Linked DNA regions of Homo sapiens: regions 1 and 3 are each linked to region 2. Evidence: promoter capture Hi-C in human tissues and cell types (Jung and others, 2019). All regions are on one chromosome and are shown on one strand. The core of a region is centred on a gene start or on the middle of the fragment in contact, and the rest is flanking DNA. Distances in the headings are between cores, read along the strand shown. Region 1 overlaps LOC105378544 (a long non-coding RNA gene). Region 2 holds the start of TEX36 (testis expressed 36). Region 3 has its middle 130 kb from the start of TEX36-AS1.

The links. Contacts are between HindIII fragments. The study calls those that stand out against the background at their distance.
Region 1: a fragment that was not itself captured here is called in contact with the fragment with the promoter of TEX36 in region 2 in 2 of the 25 tissues and cell types used here (heart left ventricle and mesendoderm cells).
Region 3: a fragment that was not itself captured here is called in contact with the fragment with the promoter of TEX36 in region 2 in 5 of the 25 tissues and cell types used here (H1 embryonic stem cells, heart left ventricle, heart right ventricle and 2 more).

Annotation. Positions count from the first base shown.
Region 1 is chr10:125,522,108-125,526,628 of GRCh38, reverse strand. LOC105378544 (a long non-coding RNA gene) reads right to left here. Exons shown (of 3, transcript XR_946438.2): 2 at 3,098-3,263. Among named protein-coding and RNA genes, the nearest start is that of TEX36-AS1, 50 kb to the left of the region's middle. The HindIII fragment of the contact is 3,173 bases long and covers 992-4,164 here.
Region 2 is chr10:125,681,110-125,685,199 of GRCh38, reverse strand. TEX36 (testis expressed 36) reads left to right here and starts at 2,037. Exons shown (of 4, transcript NM_001128202.3): 1 at 2,037-2,261. The coding sequence starts at 2,211. LOC283038 (a long non-coding RNA gene) reads right to left here and starts at 1,957. Exons shown (of 5, transcript NR_033848.1): 1 at 1,869-1,957. The HindIII fragment of the contact is 13,590 bases long and covers 1-4,090 here.
Region 3 is chr10:125,442,149-125,446,129 of GRCh38, reverse strand. No RefSeq gene overlaps it. Among named protein-coding and RNA genes, the nearest start is that of TEX36-AS1, 130 kb to the left of the region's middle. The HindIII fragment of the contact is 5,237 bases long and covers 1-3,981 here.

The DNA of each region.
Region 1 (4,521 bases), core at 1,329-3,828, 160 kb after region 2:
TGGAAATCATCATTAATAACAGATTATATGACTATCTATCCAGAAAACCTAAAAGAATCAACTGAATATTATAATCAATTTTAAAATTTAGTATGCTGACTATTTTCTAAATAGATACAAGATAAATACACAAAATTCAATTGCTTTCCTTTATAAAATTAATAACCAGCTAGAAAATATAAAGGAAACAGAGATGCCATTCAAAAGAGCAATTAAAAGTACAAAATTTAGGGAATTAATTTGATAAATGCATAACTTTGGTATGAAAAGTACTGACAAAGCTTTACGGAAGGCTATTATATTATATCTGAATAGATAGAGACAGATAATGTTTCAGATCAGGAAAGTCAATGTTGTAAAAATGCAACTACTCCTCAAAGCCTATTTAATGAAATTTTCACCACAATCCCAATTTCCTTTTTAGTTTTTGTGTTTGTTGATTTTTTCCCTTAATAAATCAACCCCAAATTTTAACAAAATAAAATTTCAAGAATAACCAAGAACATTTTTAAAATGATTTCACCTTACTGAGATAAAGTAAAAGAGGGGAAAGAGTGTATCCTGGTTAGGGACATAGTCTTGGTACCTTGATTTCAAACAATAATTCAGAAATATTAATATGTTTCTGATTAACAGTTCTGGGGAAAGGGCAATGACTATTAATTGAATAGAAATGTTTGGTAGAAGTTCCTCATTATCTAGGGGAAAATGAAGCAATAGCAACTTCATTAAATAAAAAAATTAGAAAAAGGAAAAAGAGGAAACAAAAATGAAAAATAAACATGGATACAGAAGAATCAGAATCAAGAATATCAGTTTTTACACTAAATATAAAATGTTGAATGACGGATTAAAAGACAGAGAATCAGATTAAGTTAAAATGCAAAACCCAGGCCGGGCGCGGTGGCTCACGCCTGTAATCCCAGCACTTTGGGTGGCTGAGGCGGGTGGATCACAAGGTCAGGAGATCGAGACCATCCTGGCTAACAAGATGAAACCCCATTTCTACTAAAAAAAAATAGAAAATATTGGCCGGGCATGGTGGTGGGCATCTGTGGTCCCAGCTGCTCCGGAGGCTGAGGCAGGAAATGGCGTGAACCTGGGAGGTGGAGCTTGCAGTGAGACGAGATCCTGCCACTGCACTTCAGCCTGGATGACAGAGCGAAAAAAAAAAAAAAATCAAAACCCAGCTCTATGCCGTTTATGAGAAATAAAAGACAACTTTTATGAAAAGGTTGAAAATATGAGTAATCAAAGAGCTAACAGATAAAAGCATATAAAAAGAAAGTTGGCATGGCAATATTAATGTCACAAAATGAAATTTTAGGTTTATAGAGCTAAATGGAATAATGAGGTACATCGTGTAATGATAAATGCAAAATTTATGTAGAAGAGGTAATAGTCATAAATCTGTGTGTACAACAATGTAACAATTAAATACCTTAAGCTGAAACTGTTAAAATGCAAGTAAAATTTAATTTAAAAAATATCAACATGAAAGGAGATAGATCTACTAGGTATAAGGTAAGGATGTAAAGGGATTCACTAATACCATCAATAAACTTGACTTCACCGACATACATTGAGCTTTACATATCTCAAATAGAGAGTACACATTTCCCCCCTGTGTACATGAATCATGGACAAAAATAACTCAAGTCCCACTTGGTCACACTAAAACATCTTAATGAAATAAAAAAGCTTATACTTAAAGGCCACATTATTATGTCAACAAATTTTAAATTATAATTAAATAATTCAACCAAAAATCTTAATTAAGAACCACAATTCCACCTAATCATTGGGTCAAACAGAAAATTATAAGGGGAATAGCAAACTACTTAGACAATAATGAAGAGAACACTTCAGTCTATAAACCTATGACACAGAATAGAAAGCTCAGAAATAAACCCATGCATATACAGTCACCGGATCTTCGACAAGGGTGCCAAGAACACACCATGGGGAGAGGACTGGTTCTTCAATAAACAGTTCTGGGAAAACTGAGTATCCACATGCAAAATAGTGAAATTCGACCCTTGCATTGCACCATACCCAAAAATCAACTCAAAAGGAATTAAAGATTTAAAGGTAAAACCTGAAACCTTAAAACTCCTAGAAGAAAATATAGGGTAAAGCTCCTTGACATGGATCTTGGCAATGATTTTTGGGCTATGACACCAAAAGCACAGGCAACAAAAGCAAGAATAAACAAGTGGACCTACACCTAACTAAAAAGTTTTGGCACAGCATAGTAGCAATCAGCAAAACGAAAAGGCAACCTATAGATTTGGAGAAAATATTTGCAAACCATCTGTCTGATAAGGGATTAATATTCTAAATACATAAGGAACTCATACAATTCAATAACAATAATAAGAAGAACCCAATTTAAAAATGAGCAAAGATGTAAGTAGACATTTCTCCAAAGAAAACATGCAAATGGCCCCTTCTAATAGACACAAAACACACACAGGAAGAACACCATGAAGACAGAGCAGGGTGATGCTTTTACCAGCCAAGTATCACCTTGCTCTCTGCCGGGATGATGGATGGCCAGCAAACCACCACAACCTAGGAGAGAGGCGTGGGACAGAAGTTTCCCCAGAGCCCTCAGAAGAAGCCAACTCTGATGATACCTGGACCTTGGACTTCCAGCCCCAGAAATGTAAGATGATAAATTTCTGTTGTTTAAGCCACTTGGTTTGTGATATTTTGTTATAGCAACCCTAGCAAACTAATACAACAGGAAAATGAAATAATAGATATAAACATTGGAAAAGAAGAGATAGAATTACCTATTTTAAAAAATGATACAATTGGATACTGAGAAGCCCCAAGGGATTTGGGTTTTTTGTTACTAGAATTGATGCTTTAACACCTAACGTGGCTTAATACAAGGCTCACAGCTGGGTTCATCTTATGGGAAGCATTGTCAGGAGTGTGACGGGCAGGAGGAGGATGACAGTGGGGTGTCTTCCTTTCTGCTGGACCGAGAATTGGCAAAGGCTGGCTCCTCTACCAAAGGCTAAGCTCCTCGCCAGATGTCCTCTACTACATTGATAGCCTCAGTGACAGCGTTTTTTCCAGGTCCTACCTTGGAAAACCTTGCCCCACTGCGTTGGCGTCCGGGGGTGCTTCTCTTCTCCTTGTTGACTTCCCTTATTCATGCCCACATCTTAATCAATACTTGATATTTAAACTCTCCTCAGTACCCGACTCGAGTGCACCATGTGTTTCCTGCCAGGACACTAACACAGCACCTGGAAGAAGAAACTGGAAAATTATTGATTTGCAATAGTAACAGAAGCCACAGATACTTAAAAATGAATTCAACAAAAAAGTGCAGTATCTAAAAGAAGAAAACCAAAGACTTACTGAATGATCTAAAAGGAGGTCTGAACAAATATTCTTCTTGGATTAGAAGACAATATCATAAAATGTCAATTCTCCCAAATTAATATAGAAAAGGAATCTAATTTTGATTAAAATCTCAATTAGCTTTTTTTTAGTTGAATAGAATGACATTAAAGCTTATATGGAAGAATAAATGCCCCCAGAACAGCTGAGAAAGTTATGGAAAAGAACAGTGAGTACACTTGCCTTACAAAAGAACAGATCGTGCATAAAGCCCTGCCATCAAGTCACTGTGGTATCAGCTAGGAATAGACAAACAGATCAGTGGAACCGAAGAGAGAACTCAAAAATAGATCTTGACAAATACAAAAATATAATATATGACAAAGATTCATCTCAGTGGAAAAAACATGGATTATTTAATAAACAGTGGCAGTGCAATGGCTGCCTGAAAGAAAAGAGAATTGGATCTCTATCTCACATTGCTTAAAAAATATGATCTAGATAGACTAAAGACGTGAAAGCAAAAAAACCAAAACTCGAAACATTTCCATAAAACCCATGGGTCTACACATACCATCTAGGGGCTCAAGAGGCCTTCACCACTAGAAACCTAGAAGTTATAAATTTAAAAATAATAGAGAGATACATGGCTAGATACAGTTTTCAAACTTTTAGAAGACAAATTGGGCTCTGTATAGAGTCAACAGACAAATCGTAATTTTGGAAACAATTATTTGTCATGCAGCCAACATAGAGTTCGGTGCCAGTTTTGCACTGGAGACGCGGAAGGGAAACTGGAGCAGAAAGGGATTCTTCTTCCTGGCCCGAGGAGGAAGCGGTCTTCTCAGCTGGAACACGTGGAGCCTGCGAGACACCCGCCCCCGACCCCCAAGCAGTGCGCCCCCAGTGGGCAGTCATGGTACTGCCTCTGACTCCAGTTCCCTGGAGGGGAACAAGAAGTTTCCCTCCAGTTCCGTCTTCTCAGCTGGTGTGCCTGGGGCCTGTGGGACCCCTGGCAGTGTGCCACCCACTGGGCAGCAGTGGTACTGCCTCTGCCTCTGCACTGCCGGAAGTTTCCCTCCCGCCGCACTAGCCCTCTTCCTGTTCCTCCTGCACCCCACACCTGTACCAGCCTCATAGCCTCCTCCCCGTGACACCTTC
Region 2 (4,090 bases), core at 788-3,287:
AAAGTACGTTAGAGTTTGCAGAGTATTTATAAGGTGCTATGTGAGCACAATGCTGAGAAGTAGACAGCACTGTGCATCGTCTTCTGCACCCTCCCCCTGCCCTGGCCAGGCTAATTGGAATGAAGTTAGGCTTATTCTTGTTAGAATTTGGGGAATTAAATGATCAAATTAAAGATAAGAGAACACCCGCTGGGGTGGCAGAACCTTCAGGCTGTCCTTTGATTTTGCTTCTCTGTCTCTTCCATGGTAATTAAACTTTCGGCTGGGCAATCATCCCACCAGGACAATGCCTACTTTGCAGCTCCCTTTACAGTGAGGCCTGACTATGTGGTTGAAGTCCTGGCCCACGAGAGGAAGTGTTGTATGGCAGCTGCCAGGAAACTTCCTTAGGAGGAAGCAGCTGAGCCAACTGGGGTTGGCCCAATATGATCCATGGGGACACGCCCTTTCCCCTCTACTTCCCTTTCTGCATTCTGCTGCCTGGAACGCAGATGCCATCTGGGGCCAAGTGATGACAGCTGCCCCCTGGAGCTGGTGAGTGGTGGTAGGTGGGAGGGAGCCTCATCTCTGAGAATCCTGAACAGCAGAGCCACCATATCGAGCCTGGACTACTTCCCTCTGGACTTCACTACGCAGAGAGAATAAATGTCTATCATGTTTAAGCCCCTGTTAGTTCGGGTTTCCTGTCCCAGTCAAATTTGTTCGTAATCAATATAGTGCGTCTTGGCAAGGCTGTGAGACGACAGAACTCCCTTGCACTGCTGCTGCTGGGAGTATTTCTTTACACCTGGGCTTTGGAGAGCAGTGGGCAATGCCTGGTAAAGGTGAAAAATAGTGTCTGTTGCACTGGGTTTGTCAGCAGGTAGCAGAAATCCTGGAAGGGTTTACTCCACACACAACAGTATTGCCTGGTACAGCAGCTCTGCAACACCAAAAGAGGTGGCCCACCACCTTTTCCTCCTCTCCTTACCATGTGGCTTTTGGCATCATAGTGCAAGAGGACCTGTGCATCTCCGGTGTCACATCTAAGGGCCACCTCTGGCCCTTCAGTGCTGGCAGTGGATAAGGTCCTCTATCACTACTACAGCAACTCTCCTTGGAAAACCTAGGAGGGTGACTGGAGGAGGAAAGGGTGGAGGACACAATTTCTGAGTGAGAGAGCAGCTGGACAGGTTGTCCTGCATGTGTTTACTCTCGTATTCACACGGAGTAGCCAAGAGAATTGGCAAGACACAACATTAAAAAAAAAAAGAAAGAAAGAAAAGCAGAAAACACCTTACTGAGTAGAAGGGAGGCAGGACGTGTGTGTCCAGGCCCCGAGAGAAACGCCAGATTTCACGAGCAGCCTTTGCAGCCCTGGGGATGCCAGGTGGCCCTTGGCAAGGCTCATGAGCTCTGGAGCTGGCCCATGACCTTGCTGGGACTTGTGGCATCCCATCCATTGCTGTATGTCCCTTGTTTCCTATTTGTAAATGTTGAAGGTTGTCGTGGAGAAAAAATAAAAACAGGTGAATGTTTAGTTTAGCACAGCACTTGGCATATAATAATTATTCATGAGTGTTACTTCCTCATGGTCTCAATGCTGTGCCAGGCAGGTAAGAGTGGCTGTGAGTGAGTCCTGAGGTTGGGTCCGAGCTGAGACACAGAGGCTGCCACAGAAGGAGATGGTAGGCAGCGTGGGTCCTGGGTGCAGCAGTGCCACTGATGCAGACAAGGTCACCCCCAGCCTGGGACTCAACTTACTTCTCTGAAAACTAACAGGTTGGAACATACAGTTGCCAGGGGGACATGCAACTCAAACATTATTGGTTCAAAAATTGAGAGGGTACAAAATGTTTGCCATTACCCCCAAATCATCTTGTCCTTACCTGTCTGAGCTGACCACAGGGCTTCCTCAGCTGGGACCTGGTGGCTCTTTGCCTCTTACCCTGGGGAGTCACAGCTGCAAGGAACCAGTGGCAAGAATCCTCCGAGGGTTTAGAAGACTCCTTTGCCCATTGTGATGGGTGAGTTCCCATTCCATGACAACAATGGGCACCCGCACCTTCCCCTCCTGGAAGAGGCTGAGAAGTAAAGATCAGGAACAAGGAGGAGGAGGAGCTTCCCAGACGTGTAGAGCTTATGAAGTTTAGGAAGCAGCTTCCCAGACATGTAGAGCTTATGGAGAGGTGAGGGAGCCAATCTCAGCCACATTCAGCTTCCTGGAGAGAATGACCAAAGGGCGACGCTTCAACCCACCTTCAGACAAGGATGGGAGATGGGTAAGGAAGATGGTGGCCCCTGGTGCCTTTCTCATGCCACGTGGGTGTGGTCAACAGTCTGAGGAGTTCCAATCCTGCTTCTACTATTACTGAAGCATGACCTTTGACAAATCACTTCACTTTACTCAACCTCAGTTTCTTCATCTGTGACATGGGAATCCTCTAACACTCTTGCAAAGATTGAATGAAATAATGCATGTAAAATGCTCAGCACACTGGAACCTCGTGAATGTCCACTAAGCAGTCATTCCTGCTCTACTTTTTCTTTCTTCCTTAACATCTATTTTCTAACATACTACAGAACTTATTCTCTTATCTATGTTATTTTTCTCCCCTTGCTAGAATATAAGCTCCATGGAGCTGGGATTTTTGTCTATTTTATTCACTGATGTATCCCCAGTGCCTAGAACAGGATCTGGAGCATAGAAGGCACTCAATACATATGTGTTGAAGTAATTATATTATACTAGAAACCTCTAAACAAATTCTTGTTGGCTCCCAATCCAATTCCTTTAGCCCCTCCGGCCTATGAAATGAGAAGAGTCCAGGAATGCATCATTTACTCATCTTCATCACTTGAAAACTTTCCCTTTCCAGCTTCACGCTCTCCCCCAACTCTTGCTCTTCTGATGTCACTTACAGAGCCTGTGGGATTTTTCACTCTTCTACCATCTTCAGGAAACATTTGGGTCACTCCTAAGTGTGAGGTCTTAGCCTTGTCGGCCAAGCACTTCTCTCCTTTGCTCTTCAACATGTATATTTCATGGCCGACAAGCCTCAAGCCTTTCCCATTTCTGATTTCTACAATTCATTCACAAAAAGAATGTTAAGGGGAAATCACAGCAGTAGACTCGCAATGAGAAACATAATCAGAGAAAAACCTGACGTCGACTTCTTTTAGGGTAGCAACAGGTAAAAAATTGTTAAAATTTTAATTTGTTTCAAAGAAAAACAGAAAACACTTCAGCAAATTTGGGTCTGAAGGCTTTAAAAAACTGATCTACCCACTTGGATACAACCTTGGCTAAGCAGCTTAGTCTTTCTAAGTCTCAGTTTCTTTGTCTGTAAAATGGGAGCATAATGTACCAAGGGTAGAAGACCATGGTGGGGGATTCACGACTCATTAACAAGTGCTCAGTACAATGAGTGAGCACATAGAAACCACTTAACATATATACACTTTGTATGTATGTGTACATATACGTGTATACACACAAATGTATACCTTGTTTCATTCCACAAAAATTTAAAGCATGGAAAATGTACACAATAAAATAATACAGTATAAATCAAATAGAAAGTTATAACTAGTTTTATAAATACTTTAGAAAGAGAAGAGGCTGAGTCTGAGAACACATATAACATAGACATAATATTAGGTATATTTCCAGGATTATATGGTAGATATTTGGGCACCACATTTGACTCTGAGTTCCCTGGCAGCCAAAGTAAAATGAGAGATAATGTCAACTCCATAAAGCTAAGTTCCCATGAAAAGAAAAATGTAAGTTGCTCAGATTAAGTAGCTTTCCCTCTAGCTATTACCTATGTATCAGTTACAATTGTTAGCCTGAATTTTATAGAAGGCTGACTAAAGTGACTACAGTGTCTTAACCAAATAGGGATTTATATTTCTTAAGTAACAATGAAACCTAGAAGTTGGCCATCCCAGGCTAGTACAGCTGCTCAAGGGAGTCATCAGCAGCTCCCTTTTCAGCATTCTGTTTTGCCATCCTTAGTGTGGGATGACTCCAGCTCCAAACAGTGAATCCACAACTCAGGCAGGGAAATAAGAGGAAGGTCAAAGGACAAAAAGATGGAAGGCGCCT
Region 3 (3,981 bases), core at 624-3,123, 240 kb after region 2:
ATTTTAGTAAAAAAAAACTTTAAATTTTTATAGGAATTTGGCATACAATTCCACACCGAAGAAGCCCATTGGTAGGACTCTGCTGATGGCTTCTAAATTAATAATGTAAGAATTCATTAATTTATATTGCATTTCCACTACTATCATAGGCCATGGAGAGATAAGAGTGAGCCAAAACACTCCTCAGGGAACCCGTGGTCTTGTGAAAAAGAGAATGATTGCAGAAACTAAAGGGCAACAAACCGTGGTAAGGGCTCGAAAGGAATAGGGAGCTCTAAGAACTTCTAACCCAGAACTCTACCTAGGCTTGAGGGCAGGGAAGGCTGCCCTGAGGGGATTTCATGTGAGCTAAGTTCTGGAGGATGCTTCAGAGGCCTGAAGTGCGCGCAGAACATCCCAGGTAGAAGATGTGCAAAGACCTAGGAAGAGTCCGGGGAGCGTGAGGGGTAGGGAAGGCTGGGTGGGACCCAGTGGCTGTGGGGAGGTGGAGAGGGGAGAATCACACAAGGCCCACCAGTCCTGGTGAGCATTCAGATCTTTATCCTAAACACCGTGGGAAGCCAGAGAAGGGACAGGTTGTGGATGGAGATGTGATCAGATTTCCATTTTGAAAACAATCCCCCAGGCTTTGGCTGGAGAATGGGTTGAGAGAGTTCAAGATTGGAGGTGGGCAGCCTAGTTGGGAGGTTTTCTTAGGAGTCCAAGAATGAAATGGTGGATGATGGCAGCTTGGATTTGGGGTTGGCAGGAAGATGTAGATGGACTGGGGAGACATTTAGGGGCTGGATGGGCAGACCTTGGTAGTGGATGGATGGGAGCGGAAATGTCAAGGATGGCTCTGAAGTTCTTTGCTTGTGCAGATGGGTGGCTGGTGCACCAATTTACTGACACAGGCCATGTGGAAAGGGGACCTGGTCACAGCGAAGGGTCATGAGTCTGAGATGCCTTGAAGATACCTCAATGCATCCTTTGGTTTTCTTCATGCCATTCTGAATCTTAAGTTAGTCCAACTAGCGTTATCCACATCCGCCTACTACACAGCGGTGGGCTGCTGCAGCCAAGATTCTGGTAGCCAGGGTTGAAAACAGCAGGCGAGAATTCCCAGTGTCTAAATAGCCACACGCTGGATGGCAGGGGGCAGGATTGAGCTCTGTGCTACCCACACACAGGGAAGGACGGAAGGGCACTCACTGAGGCAGGTTTCTCTCCCAAGGAAGGTGCCATCCCCAAGGAAGAGGCCTGCAGCGTGGGGAGGTAAGTTTTCTTTGGGGCTATTGGCTGAGGGTCAAGCTATGTTCTCTAGCAGGTTTTCGTCCACAATAAAGCTGGTATTTGATCGACTTCTGTCTGCCTCGCGCCATTCTGCACTCGTCCCATTACTCTCCAATAATGCTCAACTGCTTTTCATTCTGGCTCACCTCAGATCGTTTCCAGCCTGAGGATGCTTTACGTTACCCAACATGCCCCGGGAGATTCCAGCAGCAACTCTCAGGCCTTCTCCCTATGGCCACTCTCCTTCTTGTGCCTGGCTGGCCTCCTCACCCTTGTGCCCACACTAGAACACAGACACCCTCCCTTTCCAACCTCCTCCCTTCGGATTGGGCACATTCTTCATAGTCAGAGACTTCTCTCATTTCTTCCCAACCTGGATGCCCTCACACTTTTCTCTTGCCTCATACGGAGAATTCTTTAGCTCGAGTTGTCCCCTCTGCCTGGAATGTGCCACCCCACTCCCCTGTCCGGCCCACCCTCCTCATCTCTGAATCTGCCTTGGCACTGCTTCCTTCAGGGTCCTCAGTGGCCACTGCTACCCCTCCTCTGCCCAGGGTGGTCACGTGCCTGCCCCTTGCACATGGCCCTGCCATTGCTCTCCCATATTGGTCTCTGAGGCCCTGTTTATGTATCTGCCCCTACCACCCACTGCCAAGGGTCAGGAGAGGGTCTGCCTCACCAGCGCCTGCCCTGTGCCAGACCCATGGGAAACAAGCAGTAAGTGTTTGTGGAGAAACTGAAAGTAGTAGTTGTTGGAGGTACAGAAACAAGAAGTGTGCATTTTAATGGAATTGCCTCACCTCCCATTGATGCTGGAGCAGGTGTTTCCTAACTCCCAGTCACCCAGTGTGTCTAGCACCTAAGAGACAGCAGGGCAGCTAAGAGACACCAGGGCAGCAATGGCGGGATGGGGAGGAGGAATGTGGACAAGACCAGGGCAGGAGCGGGAAGGGAGCTCTACCCCAGACAACTCCTCCTTGGGATTTCCAGGCGACTCGGCCAAGCGAAAGGCAGAAACAAGAAAACATGGAAAGGATGGCCACTTGTAAGTGGGATGATAACAAACATATGTATCAGAAACATTAGTACTTTCAAAGCGCTAAGCTTTTTGCAAGCATCGTGTCATTTAATCCTCAGGACAACTCTGTGAGATGTTGAAGCTTTTATTATCCCCATTGTACAGATGAGGCACAGAGAGGTTAAGTAACTTACCCATGGTTACCCAGCTAGGAAGTAGAAGAGGTGGATTCAAACCCAGGCTGCCTGGGACAAGAACCTGCACTCCAGTACATCAGGAAAGGCAGCAGCTAAGACATGTTTTTAAATGGGAAAATGCTTCCCTCCAAGACTGGTAGCCCAGTGTTATTAATATCAGATTATAACAATGCACTGAGCTTTCATTGGAAAGGCTGACGTGGTTCCCAAAAAATGTAAGCAAAGGCAGGCAGATCACAGATTGCCTTTCCTGGAGAGAGGCCGAGGGGTATAGAAAAGGTGAAAGGAAAGTTAAGTACTTTGTGAGCCTGGACAGGGGACGGGGGTGGAGTTTAGGCAGAACAAGGCGCGTTTTTTTCCGTATGAGGCAAGAGAAAAGTATGAGGGCATCCAAGTTGAGAAGAAATGTGAGAAGTCTCTGACTATGAAGAATGTGCCTGGACCAAAAGGAGGAGGTTGGAAAGGGAGGGTGTCTATGTTCTAGTATGGGCACAAGGGTGAGGAGCCCAGCCAGCCACAGGGAGGAGAGTGGTCATACGGAGAAGACCTGAGAGTTGGTGCTGGCATCTCCCAGGGCACGCGGGGTAACATAAAGCATCCTCTGTCCTGATCCTCCGGCCTGCTTCCATTCATACATGACTTTAACCACCAGCCAGGGTGCTGGGCCCAGTGACACGGCGGTGACAAGGCAGGGAAGGCAAGGTCCTGCCCAGGTGAACCTCATAGTCCAGACCCTGAATGATGTCCACATGTGGTAAGTGCCACAGTACATTAGCGTGGCAGTTCCTGCAGTGAGTTAGACACTGTAAAGACCCTTCATGTTACAGACCAGGAAACATGAAAGTTGAGTTACCTGCCCAAGTTCACAGAGCTAATGACCCTCTGGCAAGAGGTCGACGTAGTGTCCAACATGCACATAGGGCTTGGAGACGCATTTTGAGCCACTGTGCTGAACCGCCTCCCTGTCTAGACAGTGGCAGACCACCACGTTCAAACTCACCCCACTGTGAAGGCTGCCAGAGACCACAGCCAATGAAAGGCAAGGCAGAGACTGGAATCACCTTGCGGGACAGTGAGGCCGACGTGATTAAATGCCAAGATGATGACAAGACCGTGAAGTTTGCCCAACAGTGGAGAAGAACCATCACGAAATTCAGAAGTTTTCTTTGGAATTAGATGATCTTCATGCTACAGTATCATTAGGAAAAGAAGAAAACAGAAACATTAATTTCCCAACTTCTTACTTAGATACGTAAGGGGAAAGTGCTTGAGCAGAGGCTGGTGGAGGCAGAGTGACAGCTTGGCTAGCAAAGGGGAGGAAAGGCTGAGTGCACGGCACACAGTCACAGCATTGGAACGGTGTTTAGTTCCAGGGCAGTGGAAGAAATGGAGGAAAAGGTACCAAGAAATGAGAAAATGTTCCTTTACCAAGGGCGAATAGGGATCTGTTGTGGAGAAGGTCCCGGTCAAGGCAGACGGGACATTCTGGTAGGA